Linked DNA regions of Homo sapiens: region 2 is linked to region 1. Evidence: promoter capture Hi-C in human tissues and cell types (Jung and others, 2019). All regions are on one chromosome and are shown on one strand. The core of a region is centred on a gene start or on the middle of the fragment in contact, and the rest is flanking DNA. Distances in the headings are between cores, read along the strand shown. Region 1 holds the start of FOXE1 (forkhead box E1). Region 2 overlaps ANP32B (acidic nuclear phosphoprotein 32 family member B).

The links. The method cuts DNA at HindIII sites, captures the fragments that hold promoters and counts their contacts. A contact is called where the count stands out against the background at its distance.
Region 2: a fragment that was not itself captured here is called in contact with the fragment with the promoter of FOXE1 in region 1 in 2 of the 25 tissues and cell types used here (IMR-90 fibroblasts and liver).

Annotation. Positions count from the first base shown.
Region 1 is chr9:97,849,348-97,857,285 of GRCh38, reverse strand. FOXE1 (forkhead box E1) reads right to left here and starts at 4,060. Exons shown (of 1, transcript NM_004473.4): 1 at 569-4,060. The coding sequence starts at 3,371. The coding sequence ends at 2,250. It overlaps PTCSC2 (papillary thyroid carcinoma susceptibility candidate 2), which reads left to right and starts at 4,206. Exons shown (of 11, transcript NR_147055.1): 1 at 4,206-4,370. RefSeq lists an enhancer at 5,092-5,593. The HindIII fragment of the contact is 9,888 bases long and covers 1-7,938 here.
Region 2 is chr9:98,002,711-98,010,648 of GRCh38, reverse strand. It overlaps ANP32B (acidic nuclear phosphoprotein 32 family member B), which reads right to left. Exons shown (of 7, transcript NM_006401.3): 4 at 5,496-5,685. Among named protein-coding and RNA genes, the nearest start is that of ANP32B, 23 kb to the right of the region's middle. The HindIII fragment of the contact is 6,325 bases long and covers 1,327-7,651 here.

The sequences.
Region 1 (7,938 bases), core at 2,811-5,310:
AGAAAGCCTCAACTCTGGCACTAAGGGCAAAAACCAGCCTTCTCCAGCCCCAGTCCCACGCCTGGGCTCTTCTGCAGCCCAGAACAAAACTCCTGGGTGGAGAACTCTTACTTTCCCATTCTTCTCAACCAGGCAAGTCATCCTGACCTCTGCACCTGGGACAGCCAGCTTGTCTAGCTGAATGAAGGAGAACCCTTGAACTCCATACCTGCAAAGATTCTTAGGGAGAGGAGGGCGGCCCAATACCTGCACTCTTCAAGGTCACAAGGCTGGGTCTGGAATTTGGGCCGACGGGTGGCAGGGTCAGCGCTCAAGTGCTTCCAGGTACCACCACCAAAGCCAGGAAGGGCCAGCACCTAGACCTGCACTGCACAACACAGTGTTGCTACTGAACACCTAGCAGGTGACTAGTCCACATTTAGAGAAGCTGTAAGTGTAAAACACACTCCAAATTGTAAACCCTTCATGTAAAAGGAGAGCAAAACATCTCAATTTTTACATTGATTATATGTTGAAATCATAATATTTTTGATATGTTGGGTTAAGTATATCATTCAAATTAACCTCACCTGTTTCTTTTTACTTTATTAATGTGGCTACTAGAATATTTAAAATTACATATGTGGCTTGCACCATATTTCTAATGGAGAGCACTGGTTTATACAAATCCCCATTTGGACTGAACCAAGTTCACATGTCTTCGTGAACAGGATAGTGCAGTCCCAAAAATAAAAAATAAAAATTACCAATGGTTTTCATACAATCTTCTTTTTCACACCCCAGCCCTTCCCTGTTAAGTTTATACAGAAAGAGGCTGAGTTTCTCTTGCCATAACTCACTTGCTCAAAGATTTTTATTAAAACAGTCCATCTGAACACTCCAGTTTATCTGAAAGCTGTGAATGGAGCCTCTGAAATATTTAATGCTGAAAGTTTTTGCTCCAGAATCGAAACTTAAAGATTTCTCAAGGGAAAGGGGGAGAGTTATTGGACTTTCTCTAATTTTAGTGAGCCTGCTACTTAAGCAAGATACAAAATGAAGTTAAAATTCCAGTTTCTTTCTAAAGCTCACTTTACTGACTGCCCTAACTTAATTTTTCTCTTTCCTTTTTGCATGGGGGAGGCTGCTGAGGTGTAGCAGGGGGTGCTGGGGATGGAAGAGCCCTCCCCAGCTACTGAAAGGCGTCACCAACGGGCTCCTTGAATCCTCTCATCTCCTTAAACTTTAGTTCACCCTTTGGGTCCAGGGCTGCGTGATGACAAGAAACAGTGGACAAATGAACGAATGTACTTCTCTCTGCCTTATAATGGAAAAGCAGATTTATGACTGGGCAGTAACAGCCATGAAATTACCAGCACGTCCTGCTCAAAAGTTCAATAAGTTATGATATAATTGCTGCCTGGAGCCAATCCTGGGACTTTAGGTTAGACGCTTGGCCATGAACTCTTTTCCGTTCCCTAGAACAGCGGCTAGGCTTTGGGTGGCTACTCAGAGGCCCTGGGTGGCCCACCATTGCTGCCAAATACGCAGGGCAGCATCCAAGATGATGGGGCCCTGAATGATAACCCGGGGGCGGTGGATAGAGTCCTGCAGCCCTCTAGTGTAACAGATGGGGGAGACTGAAGGTTCAGGTGATGGGACTGGAGTGCTGACGCACAGTTCAACTCGGAGCTAGGTCTCAAGTTCTCAGAGACAGGGAAAACCAGCCCAGGTCAACCAGAGCAGAGATTTCTCCAATTTAAAAAAGAAGAAAAGCCTATTTCTTTTGCAAATTTGTCCTCCTCACTTTAAGAAGAAAGGCGCTGCCGCAGCCTTTTATTGTAGTAACGCAGTTAAAGGCACTAGAGGACGAACCGCGTAAAAAGGCCCGAGTTCCGGCAGCACATGGAAGGCTGAAACTGATTCCCCACAATTTGGATCCTGGTCTCTGGTGTTGACACTACGCTGCCCTCTGGTTACCGCCAAGGACCCTCCCCGATAGAATACCAGAAAGCATCCCGTTTGAGGGCTTCGCTCCATCGAGGGTCCCTGTGCCAGTCCAAGGGCTCTGGCTGCCTCGCCCCACCTCCTCCCGTTTACAGAGTACACCGGGTGCCTACGCTGTGCGCGGGGAGACCGAGCCTCTGTGGCCTGCTCGGTCTTTTCCACGTGGGTCCCAGTTGAGTCCTCTCTCCATTCCTGTTCGTTCTCAGATTGCGGGGAACGTGTGAACAGCCGATGTGTCTATGAGTTTTCGTCCCTACGCTGGCTCACATGGCGGACACGAACCGATCTATCCCACCGGGATAAGCGGCAGCATGGCGAGCATGGTAGGCGCCTGCACTGGCCCCTCCGAGCTGCCCGCCAGGGTTGTAGCAGGCTCCCAGCGCTCCGAACTGGCCGGGCGACGTGCGCCCGTAGAAGTCCACCGTGGTCTCCACGCCGCCACTGCTGCCGCCCGCTGGGGGCGAAGCGGGTCCCGCCAGGCGGCCAGCAGCGGCAAAGATCGCACTGCCGGCGCCCTGCGGGTACGCGCCGTCGGGGCCCGCGTAGGCAGCCGCATAGGCGGAGGGGTTGGCCGGCCGGGCCCCGGTGCAGCCTGCGGGCTGGTAGCCGGTGGTGGTAGCGGGGGCGCCGGCGGAGGCAAAGGCGCAAGAGCCGCCGGGCCCCGACGGTGCGGGCCCCAGCTCTGGGCTGAGCGGCCGCTCAGGAACCAGGCCGAAGACGCGGCAAGGGCCGGGCGACGCCGCGGGGTAGTAGACTGGAGGCGGCGCGGCCAGCGACGGCGGCGCGTAGCCTGCATAGACGGCGCCCGGGTAGGGGGGGCGCGCGGCGGGCACCGCGCCTGGGAAGATGGCGGCGGCGGCGGCGGCGGCGGCGGCGGCGGCTGCGGCAGCCGCCGCGTCGTGCATGTAAGCCGGGTAGGTGGAGAGGTCCGAGCGCTTGAAGCGCTTGCGGCGGCGCAGGAAGCTGCCGCTCTCGAACATGTCCTCCGCGTTGGGGTCAAGCGCCCAGTAGTTGCCCTTACCCGGGCGGCCGGCCTCGCGCGGGATCTTGAGGAAGCAGTCGTTGAGTGTGAGGTTGTGGCGGATGCTGTTCTGCCACTTTTTGGGGTTGTCGCGGTAGAAGGGGAAGCGCTCGGTGATGAACTTGTAGATGCCGCCCAGCGTGAGGCGGCGCTCGGGCGCGTGCGCGATGGCCATGGCGATGAGCGCGATGTAGCTGTAGGGCGGCTTCCCGCGCTGCAGGGGGCGCTTGCGGCGCCGCCCGCCCGCCCCGCGGCCCGTGGCCTCCCCTGGGACCCCGGCCCCTGCTGCCGTCTCGCCGCGCTCTTCCTTCACGGTAGCCAGCACCTCCGGCTGCGGCGGCGGCGGCCCGCTCTCGGCAGTCATGGCGCGGGCGTCCCGCACCCCCGGGCTCTGGATCCCCGCGGCTGTCGGGGGGCGGGGGCGGGCCTGGCGTCCCCGGAACGGACGCTCGGCCCTTCTGCGGAGAGCTCAGGGGATCGTCGCGGGCTGGCCCCGAGAGCCCAGCGGCCCAGGCTGGCACGCGCTGGAGGCTCAGCGTCCGTGGTCTGGGGCTGGCGCGGTGCAGACAGAGGCTCGGGAGTGACCCGCTAGCCGACGGCTCAGCCCGCGTGGTGCTTCTCGAGGCGGGCAGCGGCGGTGGCCTCGTGACCGGGACTGGACTCTGGTCTCCGGCTGAAGGGTCCCTTGCGCGCTGGTGCCGGGCGGTCGAGGGGTCCGGAAGTGATCCCTGGGTTGGGGTGGCTGCAGCTGGTCTGTGGTGCCCGCTAGTTTAGGATTACTGCCTAGGTTGTGCGCGCAGAAGAGGCTTCGGGCTCGAAGGCCAGAGCGAGGGCAGTTAGTACTGGCGCTGGGCGATCTGGCGGGGGCCGCCCATGCCCTGCCCCCGAGGCCAAGGTGGCCGTAAGCGCCACGGGCAGAGAGGCGAGGCGGGGGCAGCGAGGTCGGGGCGCGGGCCCAGGCGGGGCGACCTGAGGCTGGTCCTCTCCACGGCGTGGGTCTCCAGCCCTGCGGACCGCTGGCGAGGCGCTCCCCTGCACACACCGGACCGGCTCCTCCCTCCGCCGGCTTCCCCTCCTTAAAGGGGCCACGAAGCGTGGGGCGGCACCGGTTCCCTGCCCGCCCCCCGACTGCCCGCCCCCCGGGGCCCGGGCGCACCTCCCCAGGTAGGAGCAGCTGTGGCGGCGCGGTAGGAGCCCCACAGCGTCAGGGCGGGGAGGGCGCTTGGAGATCCCCCGGGTCGGCCCCCTCCGCACCCCGATCGACTGAGGCCCGGAGAGTTCAGGAACCGGCTCGGGAGACCTCAGCGCCCGAACTCGGAGTTTTCGGACTTTTCAGGCCTCTGCCAAGGGCTTGGACTCGCAGGTGAAAGGACGGGCTCATCTCACTTTTTTGTCCTGAGAGGGTGAGAATTGGCCGAGAGGGCGCTTGGTTTTTGTGGGAATGGGGAGGGAGAAGTTCCAGGAGACTGGCTCCCCGGGCCTTTCAGGATGGTTTCCAAACCCCAATCGTGGCTGCCACAGCCACTCGGCACTCCAGTCCCCCCATCTTTCGAATGAGTATTCCTAGGCCCGAAAGGGAAGGTGACTTGCCATGGCCCCACTGCGGCTTCTCCGCTTAGCGGAGTCTCCAACCTGCGTCTCCTTTAGGACTGCGCTTCCCAACTGTGTGGTAGAGGTAGCCGCTTTCCCTTTTTGGGCCCCAGGTCCCTCGACTGTACCGGGGTCTGGATCTCTCAAGAGTCCTTGCGTGGTAGATATTTAGGGATAGGCCAATCACCACCCCCAATCATCCGTCTTTGAGAGGCCCAGGATCTGTCTCTATTTGATGGATAGTGGTGCACGGATTAAAGACGACGCAGGATAGGTAACCTCCTCCTCCAATCCCCCGGGACCAGGGTAGCTCTGAAGACCCCCAGAGGCAGCCAAGCAGCCCCTTCCCGCAGCGGGGAGTGAGGGCTGCGGGTAATGGGGGAGTGGGAAGAGAGCGGTGGCCGGGTGGGCGCGTCTCCGGGGGAAGGGGCGGGCAGTCGGGACACGTTTGCTTCATGGGTGTCCAATTTCTGAGTTCCTTTCCTGCTGTCCCTGAGCCGGAACTTGGTCCTAACCTGAGATCCTCGCGGCGCGGCCCCTCTGGCCCGGGTTCGTTCCCTGGCCATTCACTGGGAGATCCAGGGCCTGTCCTTGTCCCCTCGCAGGGCCTCAGTGTTCTACTCTGTTAAATAGCAGCTGGAGGGCGTGTGCTGATCTCCGAGGCCCCTGCTACGTATAGGATTCCGGGCCTTGGCGCGGGTTCCAGTGGCTCCAGCCCGGACGCAGCTTTCCGGGGTGGGGGGGGGGGGCGGGCCGGGGCTGTGGGTGCAGAGCCGCGCGGATGGTGGTGCCAGGTGAGTGTGGGAGATCCCAAGACGAGAGTTCTGGCCAGTAACGGGTGGCATGCCTTCCAGGGTTTTAGTCGCGTTCTTCGTGGCGGTGAGCTGAGGGCAGGCTAAGCCCGGCCAAGCGTTGGGCAGCTGCCTTCGGAAGAGCGAGGCAAAGCCCAGATCCTTGCTCCGTCGACCCGGTGTGTGGAAACGCTCAAAGCGTTTGCTTGACAACCTTCTGCGGCAGAGGGTTGGTCGAACGAAGGGAGAGGGGCTTTACACTCGCTAAACAAAACTCCTGGTTTCCTTCTTCCCAAGTAATGGAGAAGCAAAAAACCCAGATTTCGTCCTGTTTCGTTTTTACAAAGGAGGAAAAACTTCAAATTTTAAAATTTTTAACTGGATTATATTATAGGCACCTTTTAATACGGGATTTCGTGGCTCTCAGTAACTTTCAAGATTCTGAGATTCAGATATCTAGATTTTAAATTCTGGACGACCGTTGTCCTAACGTGATTCCATAAATCTAAAGAATGCGATCCTGCGATCCTGCGACCCTGTAATTCTAAGATTCCAAGACTGGGAGTCTAACTTTGACTATGCTTATATTCCTTTGACTTAAGCTTCTAGTCAAAGTCTAAAAACCTATGTATTAAGATACTGGGACTAAACCAGGCACGGTGGCGGGAGCCTGTAGTCCCAGCTACTGGAGGTTAAGGCAGGAAGATCGCTTGAGCCCAGGAGTTCCAGGCTGTAGTGCACAATCATTGTGCCTGTGAGTAGCCACAGCACTCCAGCCTGTGCAGCAAAGGGAGACCCGGTCTCTTAAAAGCAAAACAAAACAAACAAAAAACGGGGACCTAAGATTTTGTGCCTGAAAATATGATGCCACTCTTGAAGCTGCCACTTCTCCAGTTTTTTATTTTTTCCACTCTAAGTTATATATTATTTAATTTGAATTCCTGTTTAGGAATGTCTGATTGGAAGAATTTGAATCCTGTAAATCCGCAGTTCTCTCCTTCCTTAATTCTAAAATGTTAGTGCTGGATCTGCTATTCTGTAGTTCAAATAATCTGATTCCAATAATTCTTCTAATGTTTGTGATTATATGCTGTAATGATTAGTCCCATGACTTTATGATCCTCTACTTTTAAGCTGCAACGACTATGGCTAAAAGCCTTCTTGTCTCAGGATTTTCTGTTCTTCAGTGTCTTGTGTCTGTGACCTCATTCTTCTAGAATTCTGATGGTTTTCTCAAACTTTGTTAATATCAAGCTACTCCTGTGGCCGAGACCAAATACCTAGCATCATGAGATTAGAATTTCCAAGATCATGATTCTAAGATTTTCGCAAACCAAGGACCCCTAAATTTCTATTTCATAAATGTTCTCTTTGAATAATGCATTTGAAGATTCTGTGAGTCCACAGTGAGTTCACATTAAATGATTTGGTGAGTACACAGGTCACAAGTTTACCCGTTTGGATCAAAACCATACACAAAAATCTCCTCGGGGCATTTCCTATCTCTTCCCATTGCTTCCTTCTCAGTTTCTTGAGAAGGAACATGGTCATGGCCAAGTCCTCCCCTCTTCTCTGCCACAGTGCTCCTTAACGTTTATGAATCATCTGGAAGTTAGGAAGGGCAGGTTCCAGACCCTTGGAAATCATTCTCCCAATCCAGCAGGGGTGGGTTGGTGTTGATGTGGGCAGGCCAGTGATTTCTGCTTCCCACTGATCTTCAGCCCTTCAAGTATTCCCAGCACCCCTGGAGAAGCCAGCCTGCAGCAGGCCATTTTATGTGCATAGGGGGCTGGAGGTGCTATTGGGAATCTTTAGAAGATGTTCTTCTGCAACAGCTGCTTTCCTCAGTTTTGAATGGGCGACTTTGTAAATAAAAACGAGAGGGGTCCAAGGAGTCAAGGAAAATTCCTCCAGATTCCTTGACGGAGATTCCCCTGCATGCAGACGCAGAGGTAACCAGTTCTTCTATTAAAGAAACCATGGAAATTCAAGCTGGAAGGAGACTGGGCCTGGATTGTGGAAGGGACTTGTAGAGAGAAAAGCCTTGGGCTGAGAAGGAAACTCAGGTCTTTGGGCCTTACTCTTTGGCCCCAAAGCCTCTCTGTCTTTTCTTGAGTTCTCAGAGCCTTACTTGTACTTAATTCTTTGGCCTGGGCTGCCCTTTTTACTGAACAACAAAACTCCAGGCGTCCACACTTGCAAATCTGATCCAAGGATCTCCTTACAGCAGCATCGCAGTGACCTGTTTAGGTTACTCCAGTGCATTCTGTCTGGGTCAGTGGGCTGTATGGCCCTAGAGAGCATCAGAGCAAGACACTGTCACAAAAGGGGGCCCCCAAGTCACACTCGTCCTGCTGACCACAGAAGACATCCATGTAAGGCAGCACCAGTGTTGTGAGGGTTTCCACCCAAGATTGCTCAAGACCCACCCAGCGACTTTAAACCATCCACTGCCCTTCTTAGGCCTCAGTTTCTCTATCTGTGAAGTGTGTATGTGGGGATATCCCATATCTGTGCTTTCTCTTCCACCGAGTCAAGGTGATAAAGTGG
Region 2 (7,938 bases), core at 3,240-5,739, 150 kb before region 1:
TCACCTGCCTCCTGGTCTCTGCATGCTCTTTCCATCCTCTTTGCTTGGCTAACTCTGACTCCACCTTGGAGTCTCAGTCAACATCACTTCCTTAGGCAGTCTTACTCACCAGACCTCCCAATGCCAGGTCATAGGCTCTCACCATGAGTATGTGGTGCTTCTCCATTACAACACACTTTGCTTACTTGCAATTATTATTTAGAATTCTTAATTTAAAACAATTTTTTCTGTACAGATAGGGTTTGTCTATGTTGCCCAGGCTGGTCTTGAACTCCTGGATTCCAGCAATCATCCTGCCTCACCCTCCCCAAGTGTTGGGATTACAAGTGTGAGCCACCATACCTAGCCTATTTATGATTTAAAAAAAAAAAACAAAAAAAAAAAAACACCATTTCTCTGTAAGGTCCAAGAGGGTAGGAACCTTGTTTTTTTGTTCCTTTTTTTTTTAAACCACTATTTTCCGCAGTGCCTGGCACATAGGAAATGCTCAAGTATTTGTTGGCTGACCCATCTTTGCTCTCAGGAACTGCCCCCCACCTTCCAAGGAATGTCCTTTACTGGCTCTTGCACATGTGGCTGTTCTTCCTGTTTGAGGTGAACTTAAATAGACAACAAGCACAAATGGTTTTTAGGAAAAATGGAAAAACTGTAGAAGGGACAAAGGGACATAACATTTGGAAATAAGTGAGATGTCCTATTCTCTGTCCATTTTACCACCTTATAACTCATTAATTTTTGCCTGTCTCAATATGCTTCAAAATAAAACTGTAAAAATGCTTCCAGAGAATTATACCATTAACTGCACCCAAACTCCTTGATGCTTTTCCTCCTCTATTTTCTTGATAATTTCTGTCATATGTGCTAATTTTTAAAGAAAAGAAATACTCATGCTGACTGATGTGAAAACTAATCATTCTGCTTCCTCCAAACCAGGGGTTCCCAACTCCCAGGACTGGTACTGGTCTGTGGCCTGGGCCGCACAGCAGGTGGTGAAGAGCAGGCCAGTGACCATTACCACGTGAACTCCGCCTCCTGTCACATCACCTGTTAGATCCTCATAGGAGTGCAAATTCTATTGTGAACTGCGCATGTGAGGGATCTGGACTGTGCATTCCTTATGAGAATCTAATGCCTGATCTAAGGTGGAACCGTTTCATCCCAAAACCATTCAGCTGCCGCCCCCAACCCCTTCCCTGCATCTGTGGAAAAACTGTCTTCCATGAAACCAGTCCCTGGTGCCAAAAAGGTTGGAGACTGCTGCTCTAAGCCACCTGTACGTGAGAAGCGTTTTATTCTAAGAGTGACTGAGAATAAACAAACTCAGCATGCAAAGAAAACACAAACTAATCAGGAGGAATATCTTGGGTAGAAAGTATTAGTTATTTCTTAAAATCTGTAAATCTGTAAAATATGTATAAATCCTGGGTCAAATGCCAAAACTACTGAAAATCATCTTTTAATTCTATGTTATGATCAGAGATTATTTCCCTTATGAATGAAAAACGGAATCTAACATATAGTTATTTGAAATCATTACCTTTTAAAACTCTGGTCATATGTCAATGGAAGGGAAAGCTATTTTATTTATAGCTGGCAATAACAAACAGGTACCAAGTACCTACTCAGTGTCAGGCCCTGTGAATCAGGAGATAAGTATCTACCCAAGATGATGACTGTAGTGCAGTAGGACAGCGGTCCTCAACCTTTTTGGCACCAGGGACCAGTTTTGTGGAAGACAATGTTTCCACAGCCTGGGGGTGGGGGGATGGTTTCAGGATGATTCAAACGCATTATGTTTATTCTGCACTTTATTTCTATTATTACATTGTAATATATAATGATATAATTATACAACTCATCATAATGTGGAATCAATGGGAACCCTGAGCTTGTTTTCCCTGCAACTAGACAGTCCCATCTGGGGGCAATGAGAGACAGTGACATTCGAAGTGTGTGCTGCTTATGTCCAGTATACTCCATAATCTTGTTTTGGTTGCTGTCACTGCAGAAAACTTTGCTTCACAAAGATAGGATATTGGAAATGGAAGCAGGTTTTTCAGTGCTTTTTTGGCAATCTCAGGATATTCCACCTCGACTTTAATCCAGAATATATGGAGATTTTGAAGTTGTCTCAAACCATACTTTTAAGGCCACTGCCATTTGTGATCTCAACCAGTTGATCCTCTTCAAGCATGAACAAAGTCGATTGACCTGGCTTATTCATAAATGGGTTGTGGATCCATTCCTTCCCAGTTCGGGGGTCTTTTGTGGTTGGGAAGTAATGCTCAAACTCTTTTGAGAGCTGAGATAGGTGATCATGCACCAGCTGTGAGAAAGAAGGCCCTGGCTCACTCTCTTTCAAAAATCACTCCTACTGTTTGAAACATGTCAAAAATCCCAATGCTCAGAACAGAAAACTAAGTATCGTATGTTCTCACTTGTAAGTGGGGGCTGAATGATGAGTATACATGGACACATGGAGGGGAACAACACACACTGGGGCCTGTGGAGGCTGGGGACGGAGAGCATCAGGAAAACTAGCTAATGGACAGTGGGCTTAATACTTAGGTGATGGGATGGTACACGTTTATCTCTGCGACAAACGTGCACATGTACCCCTGAACTTAAAAAAAAAAGTTTTACCACTCATTCTGTGTTACTAAAATGTTCTGCTAGTGGTGACTGTTATTCTTAGAGAAATCTCTGGAGCAGGCCTCTTAACTCAAAAACTCTGGCCAGTGATCCACCTTTAGAACGCCATCTCGCTTCTCTGTGTAAGAGAAGTATTCTCTGCATCCATCTCACAGAACTGCGTGAACAGACATGGGTTAAGGGCATGTACTTTAATGTGGTTAATTTTAATCACATCCTGCAAAACGTTAAGTTCAGGTGACATTTGTCAGCTAGCCAGCATTTCTCTATGGATGACACAGTGCATAGACTCACATCCAGAAGCGACCTCTCTGACTCGAGTAGTGAAACCAGAAAGCCGTCCAGCCATGGCAGCCGCTCCATCTGTGCATATACGACACAAAATGACCAATTCAGTTTTCCTGATATGTAATCGTTCAAAAGACTTGAATAGTTCTGCAGCTGTGGTGCTGGTTGGCAACGAAGTACACATAACATAGTCTCATGCACATCCTCCTGAAAATATATTGCACAAAAACAAGCATTGTTGCCATGTTGTCAACATCGGCAGACTTGTCAACCTGCAATGTGTACCACGGTGACTCATCAATCCTCTCTAACAACTATGCCTCAATATCCTCTACTATGTCATCAATTCATCTAGTTATGGTGCTAGCTCAAAGAGGAACATGTGCCACCTTTTGAACTGCAGCTTAACTGCAGCCTCTCCTAAAAGTTCATGACAAATGTCCTTAGCAGCAGGCAGGATCAACTCTTCAATAGTAAAGGGCTTCTTACTTTAGCAATGCAGTTAGTTAAGGGCTTCTTAGCTTTAGCAATGCAGTTAGCCACTAAGAATGAGATGTTCTCAGTGCAGTCACATTTGATGAAGTGGGAGCTTTCAATAATTGCCTCTGTTTTTCACGTTCATGTTTATTTCTTTTGAAAAACTCCAAAGGCTTGTCTTTTAAACGCAGGGTGCTTGGTCTCCAAGTGGTGAAGCAGTTTTTTTTTTGTTTGTTTGTTTTTTGAGATGGAGTCTTGCTCTATCGCCCAGGCTAAAGCACAGCGGCACAATCTCGGCTCACTGCAACCTCCGCCTCCCAGGTTCAAGCAATTCTCATGCCTCAGCCTCCCGAGAAGCTGGGACTAAAGGTGTGCACCACCATGCCTGGTTAATTTTTGTATTTTTGCAGAGCCAGGGTTTCCCCATGTTGGCCAGGCTGGTCTTGAACTCCTGACCTCAGGTGATCTACCTCGGCCTCTGTAAGTGCTGGGATTACAGGCATGAGCCACTGTGCCCAGCCAGTGAAGTGGTTTTGAAGGTTTCATGGCTTTGTTGGATAGCTTGTTGCCACATATTATACAAAGTGGGCTTGGAGAATGTGAATCATCTGTTGCAATGAACCTGTAATTTAAGTAGCACTCTTGGTATTTTCTTTTCAATGAAGCTTTCTTTTCATTGGCAGTCTTGTCTTCTGCTGTCTCATTATTGGGTCTTTCCCCCTTCTCAAAGAAGCTCTCCAGCGACGTTTTTTACTCATGTTGGATAGTTAGCTTGTGGGCCTAACAAAACTGTGACTGAGACAAATACGCAGTGCGGGAAAGAGGTGTGGATGGAAGTGGTAAATAAAAAAATGGGCAGGCCATGCACTGACTAAAAAAAGCATCAGATTCTGACTTAAAGCCTGTCACCAGATACAGCTGTACAACTGAAGTACACCAACTCACTTGCCACTATAAAGCCTGCCACCAGATGCAGCTTGTCACTTGCCACTCACAGATAGGGGTTGATGAGTCTGCAAGCAATTGATTTATTATCATCTCTGTAAAGTCAAACCTCTTTGCTAATGTTAATCTGTATTTGCAGCCACTCCCCAGTGCTAGCATCACCACCTCAGCTCTAGCATCACCACCTCAGCTCCACCTCGGATCATCAGGCATTAGATTCTTCTAAGGAGCACACAACCTAGCCCCCTCACATGTGCAGTTCACAATAGGATTCTCGTTCCTATGAGAATCTAATACCACCATTGATCTGACAGGAGGTGGAGCCCAGACAGTAATGTGAGCAATGGGGAGTGGCTGTAAATACAGATGAGGCTTCCTCACTGCTCATGCGGCCTGGTTTCTAACAGGTCATGGAGTAGTACCAGTCTGTGGCCTGTGGGTTGAAGACCCCTGAAGTAGGAAGACTTAAGAACAGCAGAGTGGCAAGCCTGTAAGAGCAAGCGGTTTACAGTTTAAACGCACAGCATCCTAACTTAGCTTGTAGACTTCAGGAAATGCTTCCCGGGCCAGGTTCAGTGTCTCATCCCTGTAATCCCACCACTTGGGGAGGCTGAGGTGGGAGGATCCCTTGAGGCCAGGTGCTTATGAAATAGGCCTTAGCTATAAATTTAATGGAATGCCTACATTCAAAAAATACACGCGTGCGCACGCACACAAACACACACTATTTTCCTCAATAGTAAGAACATCTAGTAGCTTTTTTTTTTGAGACACCCTGTCTGTCTTCTGAGACGGAGTGCAGTGGGGAACAATCATGGCTCACTGTAGCCTCAAACTCCTAGGTTCAAGTGATCCTCCCACCTCGGCCTCCAGTCTTCTGAGTAGCTAAGACTCCAGGTGTGCGCCACCACACCTGGCTAATTTTTTTTTTTTCTATTTTCTGTAGAAACAAGGTATTGCCATGTTGCCCAGGCTAGTCTCAAACTCCTGGGCTCAAGCAATGCCCCCTGCCTCGGCCACCCAAAGTGCTGGGATTACGGTTGTGTGCCACTGCGCCCGGCCAACATCCAATAGCTTTTATCAGAGGCTTTGAAAGGCAGACATCAGGTTCACCAGATGCTGAGCCTACTCACCTTCGTCCTCCTCCTCTTCATCCACACCATCCACCTCGGCATCTGAGTCAGGTGCTTCCTGGTCCTCTCGGTCATAGCCATCCAAGTAGGTAAGCTGGGGCAGGAGCTTGAAGACACTCTCTCGGTAGTCATTCAGGTTGGTAACCTCACAGTTAAAGAGGTCCAGGCTTTTCAGACATTCTAACTTTTTCTGAAGAAAAGGATCAAAAACCACAACTCCTAAACCAAAGGAATATAAGTAACAAATCCATCTCTTGAAGAGGTAAAATTCTAGGCTCTATATTCAATTTCCACTACCCACTCAGCCTCATATATAGAAAAATACATCAAGTCTTTTGCAACCTTTATATTAGGTTACTAGACTTTAGTCCCTCTCTTCCTTTATCTACTCTCCCAGAGAACTATGTGTTTTTCTGGCAGCATAGTAGTCTAAAGAAATATAAATTGAAAATAATTTTTATTAAATCCAGGTATTTTCACAGTATGAGACAATCAAACAGTTTAATAAATTTAGCTGAAACAAATGTTAACATTTGAGTAATCAAATGGCCATTAAGAACTTCCTGGGTATCAAGCGGTCTTTAATGTTCTAGGGTGGCAGTATAGGGAAAAATTCAGAGATTTATAACACAATCTTAGGGTGCTTACAATTTTAGTTAGGGCACAGACATGAAACACTAGAGGATGAAATATAATAAAATATAAAGTGTGGCAATGCAGCTACTTTCAGGGAAGACAGGAGTCAATATGGGCTGAGGAAAAAGCAGAGGGGCGCAGAGTTGAAACTTCGGAAATACGGAGAAACATTGCACTCTTCTTTTTTAGTATTTGGGGAAAAGACTGACATGTTACCAGACTTTTATGATGTAAAGTTCTTCTGATTTTATTTACCATACCTTGAAATTTTGTTGCAATACCTCATTTCTTTGGAACCATCAGTTTCATCTATCTAAAAACAGTTAAGCTATAAAAAGTTGGCCCAAGTCAAGTTTTCTGAGTAGTCAAAGTGCACTGGAAAATGTCTATGTATTTACTCAGATCTTCATTTGTTATTATATCAGTGTACTAGTATTTCAATCCCAGGTCTATTAAGTTTTGATTAAGGGTAAATTAAGAGATTGAGAGGGCAGAGGTACTACACTATAGGCAAGTCAGGAGACAGCAACAGGAAGTGACAGCAGACCCTTGTAGATAGAAGAGGGAGCAGCCTATGAAAGGCAAATCCAATGTGAAGTAGCACATAGCCTGGTGCCTTTCAGAATAGGGGCAATAACTACATATATCTGGATAGCTTCATAAACACAACCTTTAATGGTTCTGAATCAAGAGAAAAACTTCGGTATTCTCTAAGAAGATAGTACTAAAAACACCCAAACAAACTTTAAGAGGACCTCCACATAAAATAATTTCTAAAAAAATAAATGTTGATGCTTAACAGGTTTTGCTGCTTTATTAGGAAAGCTGTTACAACACTCACAAGGACCTGAGAAGAAATGCAGACAAAACAAAACCTTATTTTCAGAACTCAAGGTATCTATGTAGTTCTGAGGAGATATAAAATGGTGTGAAAATCTGCCTCAAGGCTCTAGAGCAGGGGTTGGGAACCGGTGGTCCAGTGGCCAATTCTGGCCCACCACTTGTTTTTGTAAAATAAGCTCCATTGGAACACAGTCACACTCATTTATTTATGTATGGCTCCTTATGTACTAAAATGGCCAAGCAGACTAGTTGTGACAGAGACTATATAAACAGGCTACAAAGCCAAATGAACCTACTATTTGGCCCTTAGAGAAAAGGGCTACTGACCCCTGCACATGAAGAACTTCATCTTCTTGATGAAGAAAGAGGCTCCCACACTTGTTTTATTCATGCAGGGAACACACAGCAGGGTTACAGCAACAGGAAAACGTTGCACCCCTCAAAACACAAATTGTACAATGATCCAAGAGTCTGTGGATCAAACAATGTGCTTATATAGTCAGTTCCTTGACGTTTTAAGAAAGCTGTCCCCAGCCCTTCTGGTCATAGAGCTGCTTTTGTATCATGTAATTTTCAGATTAGCTTCCCTTCCAGTCAGGCCCTGACTTCCAGAAGCCCAGGTATGACTTCTTGCCAAAGAGGAAAAAAATGCTGCAATGCCACCCCAGATGGCTAGCTAGCATACTGGCTTTCTCTTCACAAAGGCTGACTCGATGCCAGCTAGAGTCAGCTTTAGGCAGCTTTTCCAAAAAGGTTCACTCTAAAAATTCTCCACTTAAAGGAATGAGCCATTTATATTTCAGAATTATTTCCTAGAAATAGGTGCACAAAAACACATACAACCTCTGATATTTATCTAATGCTTTTTAATACCAAAAGCCCTTTCTCTATCTAGTTTCATTGACTCTTCCAGTACACAGGGCCTCCAAGGCTCTCCTGTTTCTGAAACTGTACAATTATGTGA